Linked DNA regions of Homo sapiens: all the other regions are linked to region 1. Evidence: promoter capture Hi-C in 16 types of primary human blood cells and fetal thymus (Javierre and others, 2016). All regions are on one chromosome and are shown on one strand. Each heading gives the region's core, a stretch centred on a gene start or on the middle of the fragment in contact. The rest is flanking DNA. Distances are from core to core; before and after follow the strand shown.

Region 1 (4,651 bases), core at 1,449-3,948:
TTTGTTTTGAGACAGTCTTGCTCTGTCGCCCAGGCTGAAGTGCAGTGGCCTGATCTTCCCTCACTGCAACCTCTGCCTCCCAGGATCAAATGAGTCTCATGCCTCAGCTTCCTGAGTAGCTGGGATTACAGGCATGTAATCCCACACTCGGCTAATTTTTGTATTTTTAGTAGACGGGGTTTTGCCATGTTGGCCAGGCTCAAACTCCTGGCCTCAAGTGATCCATCTGCCTCAGTCTCCTAAAGTGCTGGGATTACAGGCATGAGCCACTGCACCCGGCCTAATATAGTATCATTAGCTTCTTAACAAATGGCTTGCACATACTTTCGTGGGTCCCAAGCCGTCCTGCCCTGCTACCCTGGGAGGTGTCCAGCTAAGGACTCTCGTCTTTTCTGCTGGGCAGAAGCAATGAGTACAGTGGTTAAGGGCATGGCCTCTGGAATCAGGCTGCCAGGGTTGGAAACCTAGCTCTTCCACTTTGCCAGGTATGCGAATTTGGGCAAGGGTCTTGGTCGCACTGTGCCTCAACTTTTTCGTGTACAAAATGGGACTAATAACAGCACCTACAAGTTATATTATTGGTAAAGATTAAATGAAATAGTACAAGTAAAGCAGCTAGAAAACTGCTGGGCATAAATGCTATATACATGCTAGTTATAATTAAGACATGCCACAATGTGGGCCATTGAGTGGGACAGGTTAAACTAAGCTAGTAATCTAATCACTTTTATAAACACTCTGAGGATTAGAGCTGGAGGAGCTCTTAGAATTTATGCAGTTCAACCTCCTCATTTCACAGATGAGAAAACTAACTGCAGCACAAAAGAGAGGAAATGACCAGCCCAGAGTCCCACAGGTGGTAAATATCAGAACCACTAAAACTCAAGTCTCACTGGAAACATCTAATTTTTTCCCACCATACCTCAATGCAATTCTATCAATACTTTTAATGGGGAAAGAAGTTTGTTTTCTAAATAAGCAAGCTAACGACAAACCATTGTGACAGGACTGATGAAGTTGGGAGTTGCCAGTATTCTCTAGATGGCCAGCTGTTGTTTCAGGTGTGTGTGGGAGTGAGTCTGTAGGAGGGAGGGTGCTGGAGTGGCACTGTGAAAATCAGGAGACTAATGAGACGGGTAACTTTAGACAAGTTCCTTCCCTTCTCTGGACTGCAATGTCCCCATATGATTACGGAAATCAGGTGTACCCAACTAAACTAGAGGCCCTTTTGGGGCAAGAATTTTGCTATACACTCTCAGGTTCTAAGTCAACCTAGAGGGCCTGACTCAGTACTAAATAAGGCAGACACCTGAATAATTATTGACTGACAAGCTTCAAGTCTCCCTCAGGTCTCTACTCAAATGCCACCTTTCAGCAACATTTGTTTTCTTCTCGATCCACCCTTTTTACAATGGCAAACCCCTTCCCACCTGCTCTGTTTTTCTCTACTTAACACCCTCAGACATATCATATATTTTACCCCCACCCCCCGATATGTCTGAGGGCAGGCACCTCATCTGTTTTGCTCACTGCTGCATCCTCAGCCCCTAAACACTGCCTGGCAGCATGTATTTTATTGACTGAATCCATAGAGGGCATTAAGGTTTCCTAATCAACATTTCAACTTGGATTTCAAAGCACATTGGTAAAAATGCAATAAGCATATATAAGTGTTTGTGTCAATGTGATAATAAAACCTATACAGTTTGGGGCTTTCATTGTCACCAAAAACGTCCAGAAGGCCATTCCTTCCAGGAGCTGCTCCTAAGGAAGTCATTAACTCCCAATTTTTCACAACTGCCAGGTTGATTAACTAGAAGTTACCAAACAGGGTGAGGGATATACACAACTCTCTGAAGTATCTTTGCAACTTTTCCATAAATCTACAATTACCCTAAAATATAAGGTTTATTAAAGAGAGTGGGGTGGGGGGAGCATCTGCCGGGATGCTATTCTGGATTTCCCAAAGGATTTCTTCGACGCCAGAGGAGGTCATGAGCGTCACGTCCTTTTTCAACAAGGACTGAGATGTTTAGAGGTTCCCTTCAACTTCCACTCGCAAGAGCCACCCTTAGACAGTGAGGATTGGCGCGGCCTCGGGCAAAGAGCCCCGGCGCGTTCTCAGCTCGCCTGGACTTCGGTCGTGGTCCCCGCCGGCTCTGGCGCCTCATTTCCTCCCGGGCTCACAGGCGACATTCCGGGCGCTGACCCACGGCCCTCTGACGCCGTGGGCATGTTTCGGGCCCCCCGCCCCCGCACGCCTGGACGCCAGCCTCCTGGGCTCTTCCCACTACAAGTCGCAGCCCTCTTACTTCGCTGCCGCCACCTCCGCCGCACCCGGAGTTCGGGAAAACCCCGCAGCTCCCGGGTCCCACCTCGAACCGGCCCCAGTACCGGGCCCCAGAGATCCCGCGCGGGAAGCCGCAGCCGCCGAGCGCGGGGCCTCGCGAGGGCAGCCCCCAGCACCCACCCCAGCTTCGGCCCTCCGCCCGGCGTTGACCTCCGGGGCCTTTCAGCCGTGACCCTCACCGCCCTCAGCCCTCCGGCCGCCCCTCGGGCCCCGAGGGTCGCACTCACCCGTAGGCGCGGCGCCCCCGCCCCCGCCCCCGCCGCCGGCGCAGAGCAGCAGCGCCCACAGCCCGCAGAGCCGCGCCGGCCACTCCATGCAGCCTCTCGCCTCGGAGCCCGGCCGGGCTGGAGCCTTGGCAGTCCCCGCCTCCTTCGCTCCCTCTTCCACTTCCCGGCTCCGCCGCCCTGGAGGCTGGGGGCCGGCGCAGACGGGAAGGGCCGCCCCGCCCACCGGCCTCAGGTAACCTGAGCCGGCGAGAGCGGCCGGAGGAGGCGGGGCGGGGCGCCGGCGGCTCTGGCGGCTCTGGCGGCTCCTACGGCTCCCAAGGCTGGACACCTGGCCCACCCGCAGCTCCCGCGTCCGGTCTCTGACCGAACAAAACTTCTTCCACCACGTCGCCGCCCACTCCGGGCGCTGCCTGGGCCTCCTCCCTCCGCGTGGCGGAGCCGGCGTCGCCGCTGCCAGCACACTTGCGGGGCCTCGGAGGTGCTAGGGGCTGTGCCCTGCTGGACACCAGGACAGAGTCATCTGCGGAAAAGAGCCTTGGCCTGGGAGTCTGGAGACCTGGCTTCCAGCCCTTGACCTCTGAGCCCTTGTTTGCTAGCGCTGACTCCAGGGTTAGTAATACCAGCCCTACTTCACTGGGTGGAGTTGGGGACACTGGCAGTACTGTGCTTTGTGAAAAGGACAAAGGGCATATTTGAAAGCTGGCAATACATAATGTTGATTTTAAAAGGAACATTCCAAACATGAGGGAGGATACCATACGTGCATTTTTTAAAGCACACGACAAACTTTCTACATATTTTTCAAAGGGATGGGAGGTGAATCGGAAGAATACACATTGATACTTGGGCGCCTATGAGGGTCAGTGAGGCTGGGAGGAAGGAAAACAAGAGTCCTTAGGCGTTTCCTGTTGCTGCTGTCAAAAATGACCACAAATTTAGTGATTTAACAGTTTTATTTTATTACAGTTCTGGAGGTCAGAAGTGACACTGAGCTTAAATCAAGGTGTGGGCAGAGATGTATTCCTTCTGGATATTCTAGGGGAGAATCTGTGTCTTTGACTTTTCCAGCTTCTAGAGGCTACCCACATTCCTTGGCTTGTTGCGGAACTACTCAGACCTCTGCTTCCCTTGTCGTATCTGACTCTGACCCTCTTACTTCCCCTTTTCCCTTATAAATACCCTTGTGATTAGATTAGGTCCACCAGATAATTCATAATAATCTCCCCATCTCAAAATCCTTGATTTAATCATAACTGAAAAGTCATTTTTGCTATGTAAGTTAACATATTCACAGGTGTTGGGGATCACGATATGGAATCATGGGAGGGGGACATTATTCTATCACCTTCTCCCAAAAAAGAATCATGTCTAGGTGGATGATGAGACCCATAATGAGGTGTATTTTGGCCGAATTAAGCCAATGCATATACCTGAAAACAGTTACAAAAAGTATAGCAATAAAAATGCTGATAATATACCTAGTCTAGACCCCACCCAAAGGGCACAGGGTTGTTTAACCTATTCACAACAAAGGTTCCACTCTTGGAATTAAGGCTCTCAAACTCAATAAATATTTATGAAATTGTTCCAGGAACTGTTGAAGACACTCACCAAAAGCAAGCTCTGCTAACAGAAAGCTGCAGTCAGTCTGAGGGGCAATGATAAGGGCAAGAACAAGGAATTATGGGATACAAAAAGGGTACCTTTTGGGAGGGAAGGAGCAAGGGAAGCTTCCAGGAGGAGGGCCTGCCTGTGCTGAATCTCAGGATGTTGATTCTTTTGGCTAACGGTTCAGAATAAATTCCAGAATCCAGGCATGGTGGCATGCACCTGTAATCCCAGCTATTCTGGAGGCTGAGGTGGAAGGATCACCTGAGCCCAGGAGTTCAAAACCAGCCTGGGTCTGTAACAGAGTGAGACCCCGTTCTCAAAAAAAAAAAAAATAAATCCTGGCTTGCATGTGTTATCGAACAAAATAATGTTTATGAAAACAGTTTGTAAAGTATCAAGGCCTGTAGAACTGAGAGATAGTATCATTATTTCTAAATCCCTCCCACAAATAGGTCAGCCACTG
Region 2 (4,651 bases), core at 1,313-3,812, 360 kb after region 1:
TAATTACAAATATGGTAAATCTTTAAATCAAGCAAATTAATATATTCTTCACTTTACATACTGATCTTTTGTGGTGAGAACATTCAAAATTTACTCTCTCAGCAATTTTGAAACATACATTGTTATTATTATAGTCATCATGCTGTGCAATAGTTCTCCAGAACTTATTCCTCCTAACTAAAACTTTGTACCCTCTGACTAATATTTTCCCATTCCTCAGCTGCTCCCTACTCCCCCAACCCCCGGAAACTACCATTCTACTCTCTGCTTCTACGAGTTCATCATTTTTACATTCCACATACAAGTGAGATTATACAGTAGTAGTCTTCCTATGCCTGGTTTATTTCACTTAACATAATGTCTTCTAGGTTTATCCATATTGCCACATATGACATGATTCCATTCTTAAGGCTCAATAGTGTTCCACTGTGTGTTGGCCATCTGTCTGTATGTCTTCCTTTCAGAAATGTCTGTTCAGGTCCTCTGCCCATTTTTAAATTGGGTTGTTTTCTGGCTACTGAGTTGTTTGAATTCCTTACATACTGTGGGTATTAATCCCTTATCAGATGTATGGTGTGTTAGTCCATTTGCATTGCTATAAAGAAATACCTAAGGCTGAGTAATTTATTAAAAAAAAAAAAAGAGGTTTAGGCTGGGCACGGTGGCTCATGCCTGTAATCCCAGCACTTTGGGAGGATGGGGCGGGTGGATCACGAGGTCAGGAGATCAAGACCATCCTGGCCAATATGGTGAAAACTCATCTCTACTAAAAATACAAAAATTAGCTGGTGTGCTGCTGCGTGCCTGTAATCCCAGCTACTCAGGGAGGCTAAGGCAGGAGAATTCCTTAAACCAGGAAATTGGAGGTTTTAGTGAGCCGACATTGCGCCACTGCACTCCAGCCTGGCGACAGAGCGAGACTCTGTCTAAAAAAAAAAAAGAGGTTTATTATTTTAGCTCATGGTTTTGCAGGCTGTACAAGAAGAATGGTACCAGCATCTGCTCCCGGTGAGGGCCTCAGGAAGCTTCCAATCATGGAATGCAAAAGGGATGCATCACATAGCAAGACAGGAAGAAAGTGGGGGAGGAGATGCCACCCACTTTTAAACAACCAGATCTTGCGTGAACTCAGGCCAAGAAGTCATTCATCGTGAGGACAGCACCAAGACATTCATGAGGGATCTGCCCCATGACTGAAACACCTCCCACTAGGCCTACCTCCAATACTGAAGGTCACATTTCAACATAAGAATTGGAGGGCACAAAACATCTAAACCATATGTTTTGCAAATATTTTCTCCCAATCTGTAGGTTGTCTTTTCACTGTTGTTTCCTTTGCTGTGCAATTTTATCAGACCAATTTTAGTCTGACACAATCTCATTTGTGTATTTTTGCTTTTGTTGCCTGTGCTTTTGGGGTTAAATCCAAAATATCATTGCCTAGACTAATGTCAAAAACAGCAAAATTTTGATTTTGCAGCATAGTTTCTGAAATTGAAGACAGTGTCTATCAATGCTGCCAATGAATTTAAACACAAAAAGCAACGTCTGAAACAGCTTCAAAATAAATTCTGATTCAAATAAGTACTGATATTCTACTAAAAAACCCACATGGCTTACAGATCAAATACTAAAATTATTTAGTGTGTCTTCCACTTAGGTTTTGAATATAAAGGCAATTTTAAGATTAGTACTTCAGCAACTTTCAATATAAATAGAACATTTTAATGCATTATATCCTGTTTTCTATTAGAAAGTTATTTTCGGCTGGACGTGGTAGCCCACACCTGTAATCCCAGCACTTTGGTGGCCGAGGCGGGCAGATCACAAGGTCAGGAGATTGAGACCATCCTGGCTAACACGGTGAAACCCCATCTCTACTAAAAATACAAAAAATTAGTCAGGCGTGGTGGTGGGCGCCTGTAGCCCCAGCTACTCGGGAGGCTGAGCAGGAGAATGGCGTGAACCTGGGAGGCGGAGCTTGCAGTGAGCCGAGATCCCGCCACTGCACTCCAGCCTGGGTGACAGAGCAAGACTCCATTTCAAAAAAAAAAAAAAAAAGGCCGGGCGTGGTGGCTCACACCTGTAATCCCAGCACTTTGGGAGGCCGAGGCGGGCGGATCACGAGGTCAGGAGATCGAGACCACCCTGGCTAACACAGTGAAACCCCGTCTCTACCAAAAACACAAAAAATTAGCCGGGCATGGTGGCGGGTGCCTATAGTCCCAGCTAGTCGGGAGGCTGAGGCAGGAGAATGGCGTGAACCCGGGAGGCGGAGCTTGCAGTGAGCCGAGATAGGGCCACTGCACTCCCGCCTGGGTGAAAGAGTGAGACTCTGTCTCAAAAAATAAAATAAAATAAAAAAGAAAGTTATTTTCATACACTAGTACACTAGCTAACATTTAGTTTATATTAACAAAGCTCATGTCTGAATATAAAATAGTTTATTACATGCTTTCTCCAGTCCCTATTCATTTAGCATTTTAATTATAGAAATTATTTTTGGCCAGGCATGGTGGCTCATGCCTGTAATCCCAGCACTTTGGGAGGCCAAGGTGGGTGGATTGTCTGAGGTCAGGAGTTTGAGACCAGCCTGGCCAATGTGGCGAAATCCCATCTCTACTAAAAATACAAAAAGAAAAAAAAAATTAGCCAGGTGTGGTGGTGCACACCCGTAGTCCCAGCTACTCAGGAGGGTGAGGCAGGAGTGTCGCTTGAACCCGGGAGGCAGAGGTTGCAGTGAGCCGAGATCCACCGCTGCACTCCAGCCTGGGTGACAGAGCAAGATTCTGTCTCCAAAAAAAAAAAAAAAAAAAAAAGGAAGAGTATGTGGATTGCTACTTCATATGATTAGTGGCATCACACAGAGGCCTTTCCAGTCTCCCAACACTTCTCCCCTCTAGCTGCCCTGTGATGTCATGCAAACCTTTCCCAAAGGCCCTTGGTAAACACTGCTGGGAGAAGCAACAAGAGAGGTCATCAACATCCATGTATCAGCCAAGACAAGGCTTCAGAAGGAGCTGGAGGAATGCGGAAAGGTCCTCAAGAAGTATATATATATATATATATATAGTCACTATTTCAAAACATGTATGTGGCTTCAAAACACTGTTCTGGTGATTTTATAAAACGGTATAGGAATTAGTTTTCTTTTACAAACTCTGACCTGATTCAGCGATAACCTACAGATACCTGAAGCAAAATTTCATAATAAGGTCATTACTCCCAATGATAGGAGCCTAGTCACTGATGCGATGACAATAACTGCCACTTAACCAAAAGTTGCCCACTGATTTTTCCTTGGGAAGCAAAATGTCAAATCCTTTATAAACTCTGACATAATAGTACTGCATTCAATACAACTGAAGCAAAAAGCACAAGTATGCAAGCAAAGGGAACATTTTAGTAACCTTCTTAGATGGCTACACTTTGGAACTTGCTAAACCTGACTCTCTAATTTAGTATGTTGAGAACAGTATGCATGTACTTTATAGAAATAAATACCAATCTAACAGAAAATATATAACAGTAGTCTATTTTTAAAGAGATTTTGATGCAATATAGCAACTGTGGTTTTTCTATAACAGTTATTCAAAGTGAGCATATTACCTACTGATGTCACCTAGTGTTAAAGAAATTTACAGTAATCCTTTTCAAAATCCTAAAAGGATTTTAAAAAAATCAGTCAGAAGGCAAGAGTACTTTTTTTTTCAGTGTTTGAAGGAAACTTAAGAATCATTTAGATCAACTGTCTCATTTTACATGTGAGGGAAATTATGCCATCGGTTAAATTAATCCATTAATTCAACATTTACTGATTGTTTCCATGTACCTGGCATGGTCCCAGGTATTGAGTATAAAGTAGTGAACAAAACAGACATGGTCCCTGCCATCTTAGAACTTATGCTAAGGCCTAGTGAAGACTAGGACCCAAGTTTCTTTGCTGGTTCTAATAACCCATGCAGCCTCTCTACACTAGTAAGTCTAATGTCCCTTATGGTTTCACATAGGTAGGTAGCCAGTCAAGTGAAACTGTGACCCTTTAGTAAGGCCTTAATTTATCTACAAGTACTACCACAAATTTCTCAGGGAAAGCTTGGGGGTCCCAGAGACTGAAAGGACAACATGACATCAATCTGAAAGTACAAGAGCTATAATTTTAGCTACACACACACAAAAAAAGAGCAGAATCAGGAGACCTGAGTTTTAGTCCCAAATCTGCCAGTAAAAATCTATGTGACAATAAATATTTAGGGGGAGTTTTTCCAACATTTACTTATGGCTATTTCAAATATATACAAAATTGGGAGAATAATATTATAAACCCAAATATACAACATGTTGATCATGTTCAACAATGATAAAAATATCAGTACTCCTCTTCCACCCCTCTGCCAGATTATTTTGAAGCAAATCCCAGAAACCATTTCATTTTTTTTTTTTTTTGAGACGGAGTCTTGCTCTGTTGCCCAGGCTGGGGTGCAGTGGCGTGATCTCGGCTTACCGCAAGCTCCGCCTTCCAGGTTCACGCCATTCTCCTGCCTCAGCCTCCTGAGTAGCTGGGACTACGGGCGCCCGCCACTGCGCCCAGCTAATTTTTTTGCATTTTTAGTAGAGACGGGGTTTCACCGTGGTCTCCATCTCCTGACCT
Region 3 (4,651 bases), core at 1,063-3,562, 330 kb after region 1:
CTCAGATCAAACAGCTCTCTCAAAATGGCCTTTTTAACTTTAGACAGAGTTTTTGTTACATAGTCCCCGTTTATCCCAAGTTTGACTTTACATGGTTTCAGTTACCCCAGTCAACCATGGTCCAAAAATATTAAATGGAAAATCCCAGAAATAAAACAATTTGTAAGTTTTAAATCGTGTGCCATTCTGAGTAGCATGATGAAATCTCACACCACCCTGCTCCATCCTACCTGGGATGTGAATCATCCCTCTGTCCAGTGTTTCCACGCTATAGATGATACCCACTTATTACTTAGTAGTCTTCTTGGTTATCAGATAGAAAAAACACAGTAGATACAGAGTCTGGTACTATCTGTGATTTCAGGTATCCACTGGGGATCTTGGAACGTATACCCCATGGATAAGAGGGAACTACTGTAATATCTCCACAGCACCTGGAACTTTTCTTTTATAGCAATCACTACAAATGTAGCTAGACTTATCTGTGCAATTACATGTTTAATGCCTATTTCTCCCATTTAACAGAAGTTCTATGAAGGCAGAGACCACGAATGTCTTTTTTATAAATTGTTTTTAATTGAGACAGAGTCTTGCTCTGTTGCCCAGACTGGAGTGCAGTGGCATGATTTTGGCTCACTGCAGCCTTGACATCCCAGGATCAATAGACCCACCTGCCTCTGCCTTCTGAGTTGCTGGGATTACAGGCACACACCACCATGCCTGGCTAATTTTTGTATTTTTTGTAGAGACGGGGTCCTGCCATGTTGCCCAGGCTGGTCTTGAACTCCTGGACTCAAGTGATCCACCTGCCTTGGCCTCCCAAAGTGCTCGGATTACAAGCATGAGCCATTGCACCCATCCTGAATGTTTTTTTTTTTTTTTTTTTTTTTTGAGACAGAGTTTCACTCTTGATGCCCAGGCTGGAGTGCAAAGGCATGATCTCAGCTCACTGCAATCTCTGCCTCCTGGGTTCAAGCAATTCTCCTGCTTCAGCCTCCCGAGTAGCTAGGAGTACAGGCGCCCACCACCATGCCCAGCTAATTTTTTGTATTTTTAGTAGAGATGGGCTTTCACCATGTTGGCCGGGCTGGTCGTGAACTCCTGACCTCAGGTAATCCACCTGCCTCGGCCTCCCAAAGTGCTGGATTACAGGCATGAGCCACCACGCCTGGCCTCTTAATGTCTTAACTGTTATATCCCAAGCACTTAACTCTCATATCTGGCTCTCAGAAAGACTACAATATATATATTATTAGTGCTGATATAAAGAGATGTCTATGATATATTTGATTTTCTAAAAAAAAACCAAAAAAACAAAAAAAACAAAAAACAGCAAGTTGACAAACTATAGACATAGAGTAGCCCCGCTTTTACGAGAAAAAAAAATTCTATGGCGAATACACCATGCTATTAAAACTGATTTCTGGATTGGCTAGCCATATGTAGAAAGCTGAAACTGGATCCCTTCCTTACATCTTATACAAAAATCAATTCAAGATGGATTAAAGATTTAAACGTTAGACCTAAAACCATAAAAACCCTAGAAGAAAACCTAGGCATTACCATTCAGGACATAGGCATGGGCAAGGACTTCATGTCTAAAACACCAAAAGCAATGGCAACAAAAGACAAAATTGACAAATGGGATCTAATTAAACTAAAGAGCTTCTGCACAGCAAAAGAAACTACCATCAGAGTGAACAGGCAACCTACAAAATGGGAGAAAATTTTCGCAACCTACTCATCTGACAAAGGGCTAATATCCAGAATCTACAATGGACTCAAACAAATTTACAAGAAAAAAACAAACAACCCCATCAAAAAGTGGGCGAAGGACATGAACAGACACTTCTCAAAAGAAGACATTTATGCAGCCAAAAAACACATGAAAAAATGCTCATCATCACTAGCCATCAGAGAAATGCAAATCAAAACCACTATGAGATATCATCTCACACCAGTTAGAATGGCAATCATTAAAAAGTCAGGAAACAACAGGTGCTGGAGAGGATGTGGAGAAATAGGAACACTTTTACACTGTTGGTGGGACTGTAAACTAGTTCAACCATTGTGGAAGTCAGTGTGGCGATTCCTCAGGGATCTAGAACTAGAAATACCATTTGACCCAGCCATCCCATTACTGGGTATATACCCAAAGGACTATAAATCATGCTGCTATAAAGACACATGCACACGTATGTTTATTGCGGCATTATTCACAATAGCAAAGACTTGGAACCAACCCAAATGTCCAACAATGATAGACTGGATTAAGAAAATGTGGCACATATACACCATGGAATACTATGCAGCCATACAAAATGATGAGTTCATGTCCTTTGTAGGGACATGGATGAAATTGGAAATCATCATTCTCAGTAAACTATCGCAAGAACAAAAAACCAAACACCACATATTCTCACTCATAGGTGGGAATTGAACAATGAGATCACATGGACTCAGGAAGGGGAATATCACACTCTGGGGACTGTGGTGGGGTGGGGGGAGTGGGGAGGGATAGCATTGGGAGATATACCTAATGCTAGATGACGAGTTAGTGGGTGCAGCGCACCAGCATGGCACATGTATACATGTGTAACTAACCTGCACAATGTGCACATGTACCCTAAAACTTAAAGTATAATAAAAAAAAAAACAAAACTGATTTCTGGGGCTGAGATTATGAGAAACTTTCATTTTCTATTTTACATATTTCTGTATTTCTTTTGATAACCAGAAAACACAGATGATAAACCATTTTTAAAGCCATTATAAGGTCTCTGCTACCTATAACTCTGAAGCTGTATTTTCTGGATAATTATAAGTTTACTACCACTTTAAAAGCCAAGAAAACAGACATTTTAATTATTTCAGATGGTAATAGTTCTAAAGTATCTACTTTTATGCCTTCTTAAATGGCACTTAATGTTCCCTAAATTTCATTCCTTGATGGATAAGATCGTTACCATCATTTTGGTTCTTTAATACATTCAGAGCCTTTCTAATGCATTGCAGGTGGGCCATACTATTGGTTCCCCACTCAGCCTTCAAGGCAACAGGGCAGGGCCCAGGGAAGCCTGGGCCAATCTTCTCTGGCCATCAGCTGATGGCCAGCTTACCCCAACATTCAGTGCAAATACTATTATGTTCTCTGTGTGTCAATGGCATAAGAAAAGGTTGAAAAGCACTGTGGTACAATGATTGTGCTATGAGTTTTTTTTTTTTGGTGGGGGGTGTGGGGGACAAGGTCTTGCTCTGTCACCCAGGCCGAAGTGCAGTGGTGTGATCACGGCTCACTGCAGCCTCGATCCCTCAGGCTCAAGCAATTCTCCCATGTCAGCCTCCTGAGTAGCTGAGACCACATGTGTGTGCCACCATGCCTGGCTAATTTTTAAAATTTTTTGGTAAAGAGTGAGTCTACCTGTGTTGCTCAGGCTGCTCTCAAACTCCTGGGCTCAAGTGATCCTCCTACTTTGGTCTCCCAAAATGCTAGGATTACAGGTGTGAGCCACTGCACCCACCTATATTATGAGTTATTTTATCATTTTTCTGATTACCTGACATTCTTATGTGTCAACTTACATGTTGTCACAGTTTGCTGCTTCTATTTTGCAGTAAGCTCAGACACTGAACAGAGTTTTAAAAAAAATGATGTAAGAAATAAGCATAATGGCTTTGAATAAACCTGAGGAACTTTTCTCTTAGAAAAATAATGAGCTTTAGTGCATGGACTATGTGACATCTCTTCTGGATGTTTATCTGTCCCAGAATAATTGTAGTAATTCCTTATTCTCAGGTTCCCAATAACTGCAACTACTAGATGGCCAAGTTCCAAATATCTAAGGTGCTATCATATGCCTGCATTTTAGGTACATCTTTCCTAAAAATTCTCAATGCTTTCTTTGATACACACTAGGAAAAGGACTCAAGTGGATAATTCACTTTGGACCTTAGAGTTAATTATTATCAATTTAGTGACTTGTGTATAATCAAACAAAATGTACAGGCCCACCATTGATCTAGAAGTTTGTAGGGGAAACAAAGGATGGCATAATCAGAATCCTTTTGCAACATACGCTTTGATTGTTTAATGTGTATTTGTCTGAAAACAGTTTAAGATAACATATTGTAAAGGGAAAAAGTAAGTTATAGACTACAGGTATTCCCAAAATTGAGAAAAGAAAGAAAATTGCCATGGACTGTAGTAGTCAGGAGGAATCTCATTATAGTTGGGTTTAGAAAGACAAATAGGATTGCAGAGATAAAGAGAAAGGGAAAAGACAACTTCAAGGACAATCATGTTCTTCTACTAACACTTTTCGTACCTACCTACTGGTAGAAAAATAACACAAGTATGGTGCAACACTTACTGGTCATTTTCTGTATGTCAGATGCTTTATTATTATTACCATTTTTTTTTTGAGGGGGAGTCTTGCTCTGTCGCCCAGGCTGGAGTGCAGTGGAGTCCACCTCCTGGGTTCAAGTGATTCTCCTGCCTCAGCCTCCCAAGTAGCTGGGATTACAGGCACCTGTCATCATGCCCAACTAATTTTTGTATTTTTAGTAGAGATGGGGTTTCACCATGTTGGCCAGGCTGGTCTTGAACCCCTGATCTCAGGAGATCTGCCTGCCTTGGCCTCCCAAAGTGATG
Region 4 (4,651 bases), core at 768-3,267, 290 kb before region 1:
TGAGCTTTGTGGAGTTTGCTTGCGCAGAAATAATGCCTATACTTCCGCCTATTTCTGTTCTTCACCTGCCCAGACTAGCTCCAAACATCAAATCTGATAAACACAACACTCTGGCAACATAATGTCCATTAAGTGAGTGCAGAAAAGACCATCTGGTTTCTGCTTACATGCATCTTTTTTATGTTGTCTGGATCATCTCATTCTCCCTTTCCTGTTTCTAGCTACAGGTGGTGATGGGAGAAGTAAGAATTACACTCTCACCTTAACAGAGTGATGGGCTGTGAATGAATGATGCAAAAATCATTCACTGTCCAAAATCACATGGTATAATTTGCATGAAGGTACTAATGGCACAATTCACTTCCTCCCTGCTCTAATCGTTTCACTCTGCCATTATAACACTCCCATACTTGTGGTACTTTACAGGCTGTCCTGCCACTGAAGGACTCAAACTAGCACTAAGCAAGCTAAATCAGGGCTTACTCTTACTCCTCACCCTATATTCTCCCCATACATTGAAATATTTCACCCATGCAACTAGAAGCAAAGGCAGTACTTAGGTAAAATAATAGATTATCTGGTTCCCTTTTTTTTTTTTTTTTTTTTTTTTTGAGACGCAGGTTTGCTCGTTGCCCAGGCTGGAGTGCAGTGGTGCAATCTCGGCTCACTGCAACCTCCATCTCCCAGGTTCATGTGATTCTCCTGCCTCAGCCTCCCAAGTAGCTGGGATTACAGGCATACACCACCAAGCCTGGCTAATTTTGTATCCATTTTTAGTAGAGACAGGGTTTCATCATGTTAGTTAGGCTGCTCTCGAACTCCTGACCTCAAGTGATCCGCCTGCCTCGGCCTCCCAAAGTGCTGGGATTACAGGCGTGAGCCACCGTGCCCGGCCATCTGGTTCCTTTAAAAAGATTTTTATAGGGTTCTACTCTATTTGTCTTATTTACATTTTAATAATAAAAAGTCCTTATCAAGTGTTTCTGTCCAGGTCTTGATCCTCAGAACCCCGGGGAGAGGTGGGTTATGGAGGCTAGTTGGGCATGACTGTGATGTGCTAAACTGAACACCATTTCCTCTGAAGAGTTAATTATGATCCTGCCCAAAATCCGATTCCTAACTGCACTGGGGAAAAATTAGATACACGTACAATTAGATTGCTGAAGTAAATGCCTATAATAAAAATAATTCTTTCAGCTTTGTTCTGTATTACACACAGAAAATGAATTATTTTACTTTACCTTGGCATATACCATAATCTAGGCCAAATCCCTTAAGTATTTTATATTGTTTAGTTCAAACTGAAAAAAAAAAGTGGACTCTGAAGACAGATGATCTTAGCATCATTCTGAACTTCTTTTAAGCATCCATTTGGATAGATACGGAAATGGTCTAAGAACTAGTGTCATTGTAGTAAAAAAAAGATAAAAGCAAAAACTGCACACTTCTAGTATTGTTATTTCCCCCTAGGTACATGGTAAACCACATCAATAAATAAAGCAATGGACTTTTCAGCAATGTACGCTTAAATAGTTACAAACATACATGTAGAAAAAAGGATACAGTAGTGCAAAAAATAAATTATTAAAACAGAAAGAAGTATGAACATTATTTTACACAATGCTCTATAAAACCTGAACCATTTGGAATGAGACCTCAAGTCAGTGAAATTATACAGCAACATTATTAGTATCTTTGTTTTCACATTTCAACCACACAGTCATTGATCTATGAAAGAAAGAATATTAAAGCAAAACCACTTTAAACTTTTGGAAATTTTAATGTTAAAATCAAATTATGTTTTTCTGGGCTCTTAAACACCTCTGCTGTTTATGTAGTTATGCAGCATGTCAAGAAGCATCTTAAGACAGAAAGTTTCAAATAGGTCACATTCTTTTGGTCTTTCTACTCAATTTCTCTCTGTGATCAACAGCAGGCTGATGCCTCTGTTTGACACCCCCTTCTGTTAAGATATTATTGCAATTAGATATATTTACAAGAAGACTCCCCCCGACGGCAGTGGGGAAGGTGGGAGCTCCTCTTCGGCAATCCACTCACTAGTTTTGGTTTCGGGATATGAAGGCCAGGACTCGTCGAATACCATTCAGTCTGTCCTTTAAGGACCTCATTGCTAGGAAGGGGAGCTGAGCTCGGCTTTCCAAGGGAAGAACTGCTAACATCCACCAGCACCAGGCTGGGCCATTCGGGTTCATCTGCAACAGAGAAACACAATGGAGTCATCCTATTCCCATCCAAGAACATCAGTCTGCAGAGTTCCAAATGCTCAAGGTAAAGACCCCAGGTAGAACAACTCCATGTGGCAGATTGCTAATTGACCCTATATCTATTTTCCCCCTTATTTTAGCAGGGCATATAGCCACCCAGAAAAAAGACTGCATTTCTCAGCTTCCCTTGCAGCTAGGTGAGGCCATGAGACAAAGTTCTGGCTAATGAGATGTAAAGGGAAGTGATATGTGTAACCTCTTGGTCATGCTCTGGGAAAGAAGCATATGCCCTCTGCCTTCCTCTTTCTCTCCCTTTCCCCTAGCTAGAACATGGACGTGGTGAGGATCAGCCTTTCTCAATCAAGAGGATGAGGGAGACATTTTAAGGATGGTAGAGTTTTGTGATGAAGGAGCCTGGGTGCCTGAATGCTCTTGTGGAATAGAGCTGCCCTAACTGTCCAAGACTTAGCCCCTCCATCTTGTTTAAGCTCCAGTCATTTTTGTTTCTTGTTAAAGCAAACCAACCAGTATCCTAACAGATACACCATGCCTCCTAGCCAATGTGATTTTACAAGCTGGTATCTACTATGTAGTCTCTTCCACTTCTAATATTCTGTTGAGGTCCTTTGGACTGATGCATTTAACATTCAGGCCTTCGATTCCCATGACCCCTTGACCTTTGCATGTCTTTTAAGTCCCCTCATTTCCTTGATGTGGCTGAAGGCAATAGTCCATGTATACCATGTCACTATACAGGGCCATAGCTCTCTTCTCCCCTGAAACCAAAGGCTATGATTTACAGTCCCAAAGAATCACAATCTCACTTTGCAAAAATTCCAATTAGAAAACATTCACATTAGAAATATATTCTGCCCCAGGGCCGGGCACAGTGGCTCACGCCTGTAATCCCAGCACTTTGGGAGGCCAGCGGGTGGATCACGAGGTCAGGAGATCGAGACCATCCTGGCTAACACGACGAAACCCCATCTCTACTAAAAATACAAAAAATTAGCCGGGCGCGGTGGCGGGCTTCTGTAGTCCCAGCTACTCCGGAGGCTGAGGCAGGAGAGTGGCGTGAACCTGGGAGGCGGAGCTTGCAGTGAGCTGAGATATGCCACTGCACTCCAGCCTGGGCGACAGAGCAAGACTCCGTCTCAAAAAAAAAAAAAAAAGAAAGAAAGAAAGAAAGAAATATATTCTGCCCCTAGATTTCCTTTTAATAAAGAGCTTTCCCATTCCACATAAATCCTTCCCCAAAGCAGCTTCCCTGGCACATATTTTAGACATTGGGTACTTATTTCCTTCTAAGCCTAAAACGAGCTTTCTGCCCACAACTTTCACAAGTTTGGTTTTAGGACTATAGAGAACCATTCTGGTCAAAGTGCCTACACCTGAAATTATTTGGCTCCAAATTGGTTCCTCTGATCGTCACCAAATCTCACTGCCTTCTTTGCTTCTTTGTGCCTCTAACTTCATTTGCATTCTTTTTTGTCCCTCCCTGAAGCTGGCAATATGCTCTCCCTCCTATGATCAGTTCTGAATATTAGACTGATGTTCTGAACTTTCTTTCCAAGGATCACCAACAAAGATATTTAAGCTGGTATTAACACTTGTGGCAGTTTCTAAGAAACATCCTCCTGACAGAACATGCTTATTTGTGGGACCACTGGGGATGCAGCATTGACTGGAGCAAACTGGGATGGGTATGGGTTTTTCTTTTTTGCTGGTGCTGCTGCTGCCAAAGCAACATAATAACAGAACTAAGAAAAAAGGAAGTGAAACCCAAGATTTCAACTTTCTCTGTCATTAGCCTTTATGAATCACACTGTAGCATCTGTGTTTTCCCGTTACCATTGCTGATCTGTATCTTTTGCCTAAGGGAGAACGCTTCCCGGAAGGTGAAGGGGAACATTAAGCTTGATCGTGAGTTTGCTCAGAGGTATATGCTGCAGTCCTGACTCATCGTGGCCCAGAGCCAGGAGCTGGGTCACAGGAAGCACTAACTGGCCTTTCTCCCTTGAAAACTCATGATGCCTTTGCATGGGGGGGGAAAGAAGCCACCTTTGTGGTCTGAGGAAAGCAAGACATTTCATTTAGGGAACAGACTGGTGTCTTAGAACCTCAGAATGCAAGAGGAAGAGGGGGCTTTAGAACCCTCCTCATGTCAGAGATGGGACAAAAGTTGAGAAAGGGAAAGGAATCTTCCCAAGGTCATACTGCTAGTGAGGTAAGCAGGACCAGACTTTTGGTCAGAATATGCATATTGAGATTTTTTCTTTTGTGACAGAGTTGGGGATGAGCATAAGTAAAGAATCAATGTAGGAGAGCCAGCTTGGAGCATAGGAAGAGATGGTCGTGAGGAAATATGTGGTTAGGATATCTCCAGCCTTATCCTAGAAAGACAGTATTCCCTGATTTATTCCAGG
Region 5 (4,651 bases), core at 602-3,101, 270 kb after region 1:
TTGTCTGTCTCTTGGCCTTTACCTGAATGAGTTAGCTGCTTAAACTTCTATTCCTAGCTCAGGGATTCTTAAAGTTGTTGAAAACAGGTTCCTGCATCCCTTCTCCAACAGACTGTGATTCAGTGCACGTTAAACTAATTCCCAGGTGCTTCTGAGGAAGGCATAGCAGACCACAATTTTAGAAGTCCCCATGGGGTTGAAAGGAGATGACTTGGAAAAAGGAAAAACAAAATATCCTGCTCTTGACGTTAGTGCACAAGAGTGAAAGCTTTCATAGAATTGCTTATAAGCTTAAAATAACTCCTTTCCCTAATGAAGGTGCATGGAAGCTTGGCTGACTTAATGGTTTATCTAACGGTTTATTCGACTGATTAGTGAATGACCATGTTAAGGCAAAAACTGACCCAAGGAAGTCAGTTTCCAATGTCTCTTCAATTACTCTTTTTCATATTGTTGTATGCACTGCAGCAGACTCAATTCAGATCAAATATTTGTTGAACATTACTTACAAGGACCTGTGATTGACTTTCACACGTATTCTATGGGTGAAATCACTCCATAATAATCAATAAAGTGGAATGATTCTCTTCTGTATCTGCTTCAACTTGATCTCCTGTGGATTTTGAGGCTTCCCACCACCTTCCACTCCCATTGCCACCTGTGTCCGTCCCAGCTGCTGCTGCTTCTCCAGTTGTCTGTACCTCTCGCTGCCATACCACTTCATCACTCCTGCTCTTGCCACACACAGAGCTTCATTCTGACCAAGTGTGCCTTTCTTTTTTGCCTCATGCAAAACTCACTCTAGAGAAGACTGTCCTAATTAAGGACTCTGACTTAACAAGGGTAGGTTCAATTTAAGTTCACTTTGGCCATACTTAAAATAGTTGAGTTTTTTTTCCCCCCCGAGACAGAGGTCTCACTCTGTCGCCCAGGCTGGAGTGCAGTGGCACCATCTCGGCCCACTGCAACCTCCAGAGGCCTCCTGGGTTCAAGCAATTCTCCTGCCTCAGCCTCCTGAGAAGCTGGGATTACAGGTGCGTGCCACCATGCCCAGTTGATTTTTGTATTTTTAGTAGAGACAGGGTTTCACCAATGTTGGCCAGGCTGGTCTCGAACTCATGACCTCAGGTGATCCACCCGCCTCGGCCTCCCAAAGTGCTGGGATTACAGGTGTAAGCCACCGTGCCCAGCCAATAGTTGAGTTTTTACTAATGTTCTAGGCTTAGAAAACAGATTCAGTTCTAATTTGCACTGCTTCACTTTGTTTTGTAAACAACTTAGGTTTCATGGTTCACTAAAAACTTAATATTTGCAACCTGCTCAGAGGTTCAATAGAATAGCGCAATTCTTTCTTGCTTCTTGGTCCCCTTTCTGTTTGGTTCTGGTCCTAAGAGAAGCAAAGCACTGACATCTGTTGCAATGTTCCTCCCCCTCTCCAAGTAGGGATGGTGAAAATCTAAGGCATTTTCTCCTAGCAATTTTAAATTATGCTTTTGGTCTTCTTATCCAAATAATATACACTGCAGTATTTTAAATGTTGGGTACCACCTAGAGGAGACAGTGTATACTGATCCAGTTGATGAACATATTTTGAGAAAAAAAAAATCAGGGAAAATGCTTCTCAATATACCGATCTTGTAATTAGATGTTCTAGGAGTAGAACTCAGTCACTGATTGTGCCATTCTGATGCCACAGAAGATCACAAGTTATGTCAGCAGGAATTTGAATAAATGAATGAGAAAGTGAGGAAATCCTCAGCTGCACTGTTTCTGAAGGACTGCCGGCAAGCACATGGACCACATGGACCATCAGAGTTAGAAATCTTAGTCCAAGGACTTCATTTTAATAGACTTGCAGAGAACTACTTATCTTTCCTGAAGTCACAAGGCCACCACAACCAGGACTACAAATTGGGGTTCCCAATTTCTATGCAGGAATTTCTTGTAATTCATACATCGCTTATTCTTTTTTTTTTTTTTTTTGAGACAGGGTCTCACTCTGTTGCTCAGGCTGGAGCACATGGAGCACAGTGGTGTGAACATGGCTCACTGCAGCCTCGACCCCCTGGGCTCAAGCCATTCTCCTGCTTCAGTCTCCCTGTTCGCTGGGACCACAGGCATGCATCACCACGTCTGGATTTTTTTTTTTTTTTTTTTTTTTTTTGTAGAGACGGAGTCTCACCATGTTGCCCAGGCTGGTGCTTACTGTTAAGAGTTCATGCTTTGTACTTTCATTTTAAGGACCTACCACCTTCGATCAATAATTGGAAATTCTGACAAGATATATATTTCTCTATCTCTGATTGTTATTCACAGTGATAAAAAACAGGCACAACCTGAATGTTTGATGGATTGCTTAAATTGTGCCCATATGATGGACACTACCTCAGCCAGGTGATAAGAACGTACCCTCGATGTGATGTAATGAAAAGAGCAATTCACTTCCTTAAAGTCCACAACCCCAGCTGAATCATGAGAAAAACATTAGACAAACCCAATGTGAGGTACATTCAACAAAATACTTGACCAGTACTCCTCAAAACTATCAGGGTCATCAAAAGCATGGAAAGTCTGAGAAATTGTCACGGCTAAGAGGGGTCTAAGGACACATGATGACCAAATATGGGTAAAAACTAGTGAAATCTGAATAAAGCGTGGAGTTTAGTTAATTATACCAATATTGGTTCCTTAATTGAAAAATATAACATGGTATCGTAAGAAAAATAAGGGAATATAATTACTTATTTCAAAAGTCAAGTGTATTCATTTTAATAGACTATTGGTTGCTCTAAGATTATGTGATAGTGCTTGGCCTATGTTTTTAGCATTAAAATGTTTTATCTTTTATGAAGTGGGGATAGTAGATGGTGTCTGTTAAAAAAGTGTTAAAAAATGTCTGTGCCCTATGTCAATCCCTAAAATGCTGTGTGTCCATGAAATCCCTATGTCTAGAAAGCGTTTCTGGCTGGACGTGGTCGCTCGTGCCTGTAATCCCAGCACTTTCGGAGGCCGAGGCGGGTGGATCACCTGAGGTCGGGAGTTGGAGACTAGCCTGACCAACATGGAGAAACCCCATCTCTACTAAAAATACAAAATTAGCTGGGCATGGTGGCGCATACCTGTAATCCCAGCTACTTGGGAGGCTGAGGCAGGAGAATCGCTTGAACCCAGGAGGCGGAGGTTGTGGTGAGCCGAGATCGTGCCATTACACCCCAGCCTGGGCAACAAGAGCAAAATTCCATCTCAAAAAGAAAGCGTTTCCATATATCGTCTTTTTTTTTTTTTTTGGTCTGAGAGAGTACTCACGGATTTGCGAGAGGCAGCAAGAAATGTACATCTGTTGAGTATACCTACTGGTTAGGCACCAAGCTTTACACATACATGATTTCTTAGCAAATCTTTGCAATTTAAGTTAGGTATTCCCATATTACAGATAAGGAAGTAGTAGTAATGTAGGATAAATAACTTGCCCAAGGAATGTGCTAACGGGAAGGAAGCAAATCCAAGTTTACCTGACTCTAGAACCTGTGATCTTTTTTTTTTTAATAATACCATATCACTCGTTATAGAGAATATCTAAAACTCATTTTAAAGAGAAATAGTGTTCTTTTTTTCTATATATTTTGATGCTACCTTTTAAATTCAGTGTATTCATATAGCAATAACAAGTGTCAGTATTATGCTTTTTTTTTTTTGAGACAGAGTTTTGCTCTTGTTGCCCAGGCTGGAGTGCAATGGTGCGATCTTGGCTCATCGCAACCTCCGCCTCCTGGGTCCAAGCGATTATCCTGCCTCAGCCTCCTGAGTAGCTGGGATTACAGGTGCCCGCCACCACGCCCAGCTAATTTTTTGTATTCTTAGTAGAGATGGGGTTTCACCATGTTGGCCAGGCTGGTCTTGAACTCCTGACCTCAGGTGATCTTGGCCTCCCAAAGTGCTGGGGTTATAGGCATGAGCCACCACGCCCGGCCAGTATTATGCTTTTAAGCTTGCATCCCAACTCGTTTTGTCTTTTTGGTCAAGTAACCACATAAAACCTATCACGAGATAGTCATATAATAATACCCTGATTATCTGCAGTTAAAACAATCAACACCACAGCCGACTACAAGTTCTCAGGCAGAAGTTAGTGAAAGCCAAGCTGCCTCAAAGAGCTGAAGACATCAAGTTTTAAAAAGAAACACTGGATCAATCACAATGCCACCCAGACCTTGAGATTAAAGAAACTGTGCCTGGTTTTTAGAAAGCCAATGGCATAACAATTCAGTCAGGGAGAGTACAGGAGAGTGAGGAAGCCAAAGCAACCAGAGAGATGAGGAGAGGGGAGGGGGAAGGGTAGAGGGAGAAAGCACAGCACTGGCAAGAAGAAAGCAACAAATAATATGTAATTTACTAGAAAGCCTAGAACACTCTAAGACCGTGCTAATCAACAAGGATATGTCCGTGGCTCCCCAACTTCTCACTTACATGCTGAAAACAAATGCAGTAAAGAACATATAAGCATATAGATGAATTCTTAGCACTGTTCAATTTAAAGCTAGAATTAAAAAAATTTTAAGGCATGTAACTAATGCATTATAATTTAGGGATCTAAAATCTGGTCTTCTGTTGCTAAAATTTAAATGATTAAAACAAGAGTTTATTTTTCTTG

The links. Contacts are between HindIII fragments. The CHiCAGO score rates a contact against its expected background, and 5 or more counts as called.
Region 2: a fragment that was not itself captured here is called in contact with the fragment with the promoter of IL13RA1 in region 1 in 1 of 17 cell types (neutrophils); the score reaches 5.8 in neutrophils.
Region 3: a fragment that was not itself captured here is called in contact with the fragment with the promoter of IL13RA1 in region 1 in 2 of 17 cell types (total CD8 T cells and total CD4 T cells); the score reaches 5.8 in total CD8 T cells.
Region 4: a contact is called between a fragment that was not itself captured here and the fragment with the promoter of IL13RA1 in region 1, in 1 of 17 cell types (monocytes). The highest score is 5.8, in monocytes.
Region 5: a fragment that was not itself captured here is called in contact with the fragment with the promoter of IL13RA1 in region 1 in 2 of 17 cell types (neutrophils and total CD8 T cells); the score reaches 8.4 in neutrophils.

What each region holds. Positions count from the first base shown.
Region 1 is chrX:118,725,653-118,730,303 of GRCh38, reverse strand. It overlaps IL13RA1 (interleukin 13 receptor subunit alpha 1), which reads right to left and starts at 2,698. Exons shown (of 11, transcript NM_001560.3): 1 at 2,578-2,698. The coding sequence starts at 2,665. RefSeq lists a silencer at 2,660-3,089. The HindIII fragment of the contact is 2,975 bases long and covers 1,335-4,309 here.
Region 2 is chrX:118,366,881-118,371,531 of GRCh38, reverse strand. The region is part of intron 1 of WDR44 (WD repeat domain 44); the gene reads right to left. Among named protein-coding and RNA genes, the nearest start is that of MIR1277, 17 kb to the left of the region's middle. The HindIII fragment of the contact is 3,070 bases long and covers 1,028-4,097 here.
Region 3 is chrX:118,398,676-118,403,326 of GRCh38, reverse strand. All of the region lies in intron 8 of WDR44 (WD repeat domain 44), which reads right to left. Among named protein-coding and RNA genes, the nearest start is that of MIR1277, 15 kb to the right of the region's middle. The HindIII fragment of the contact is 5,488 bases long and covers 1-4,651 here.
Region 4 is chrX:119,015,097-119,019,747 of GRCh38, reverse strand. LONRF3 (LON peptidase N-terminal domain and ring finger 3) reads right to left here. Exons shown (of 11, transcript NM_001031855.3): 11 at 1,393-2,213. The coding sequence ends at 2,058. Among named protein-coding and RNA genes, the nearest start is that of LONRF3, 43 kb to the right of the region's middle. RefSeq lists a silencer at 4,188-4,247. The HindIII fragment of the contact is 4,253 bases long and covers 1-4,143 here.
Region 5 is chrX:118,450,003-118,454,653 of GRCh38, reverse strand. No RefSeq gene overlaps it. Among named protein-coding and RNA genes, the nearest start is that of DOCK11, 43 kb to the left of the region's middle. The HindIII fragment of the contact is 3,040 bases long and covers 332-3,371 here.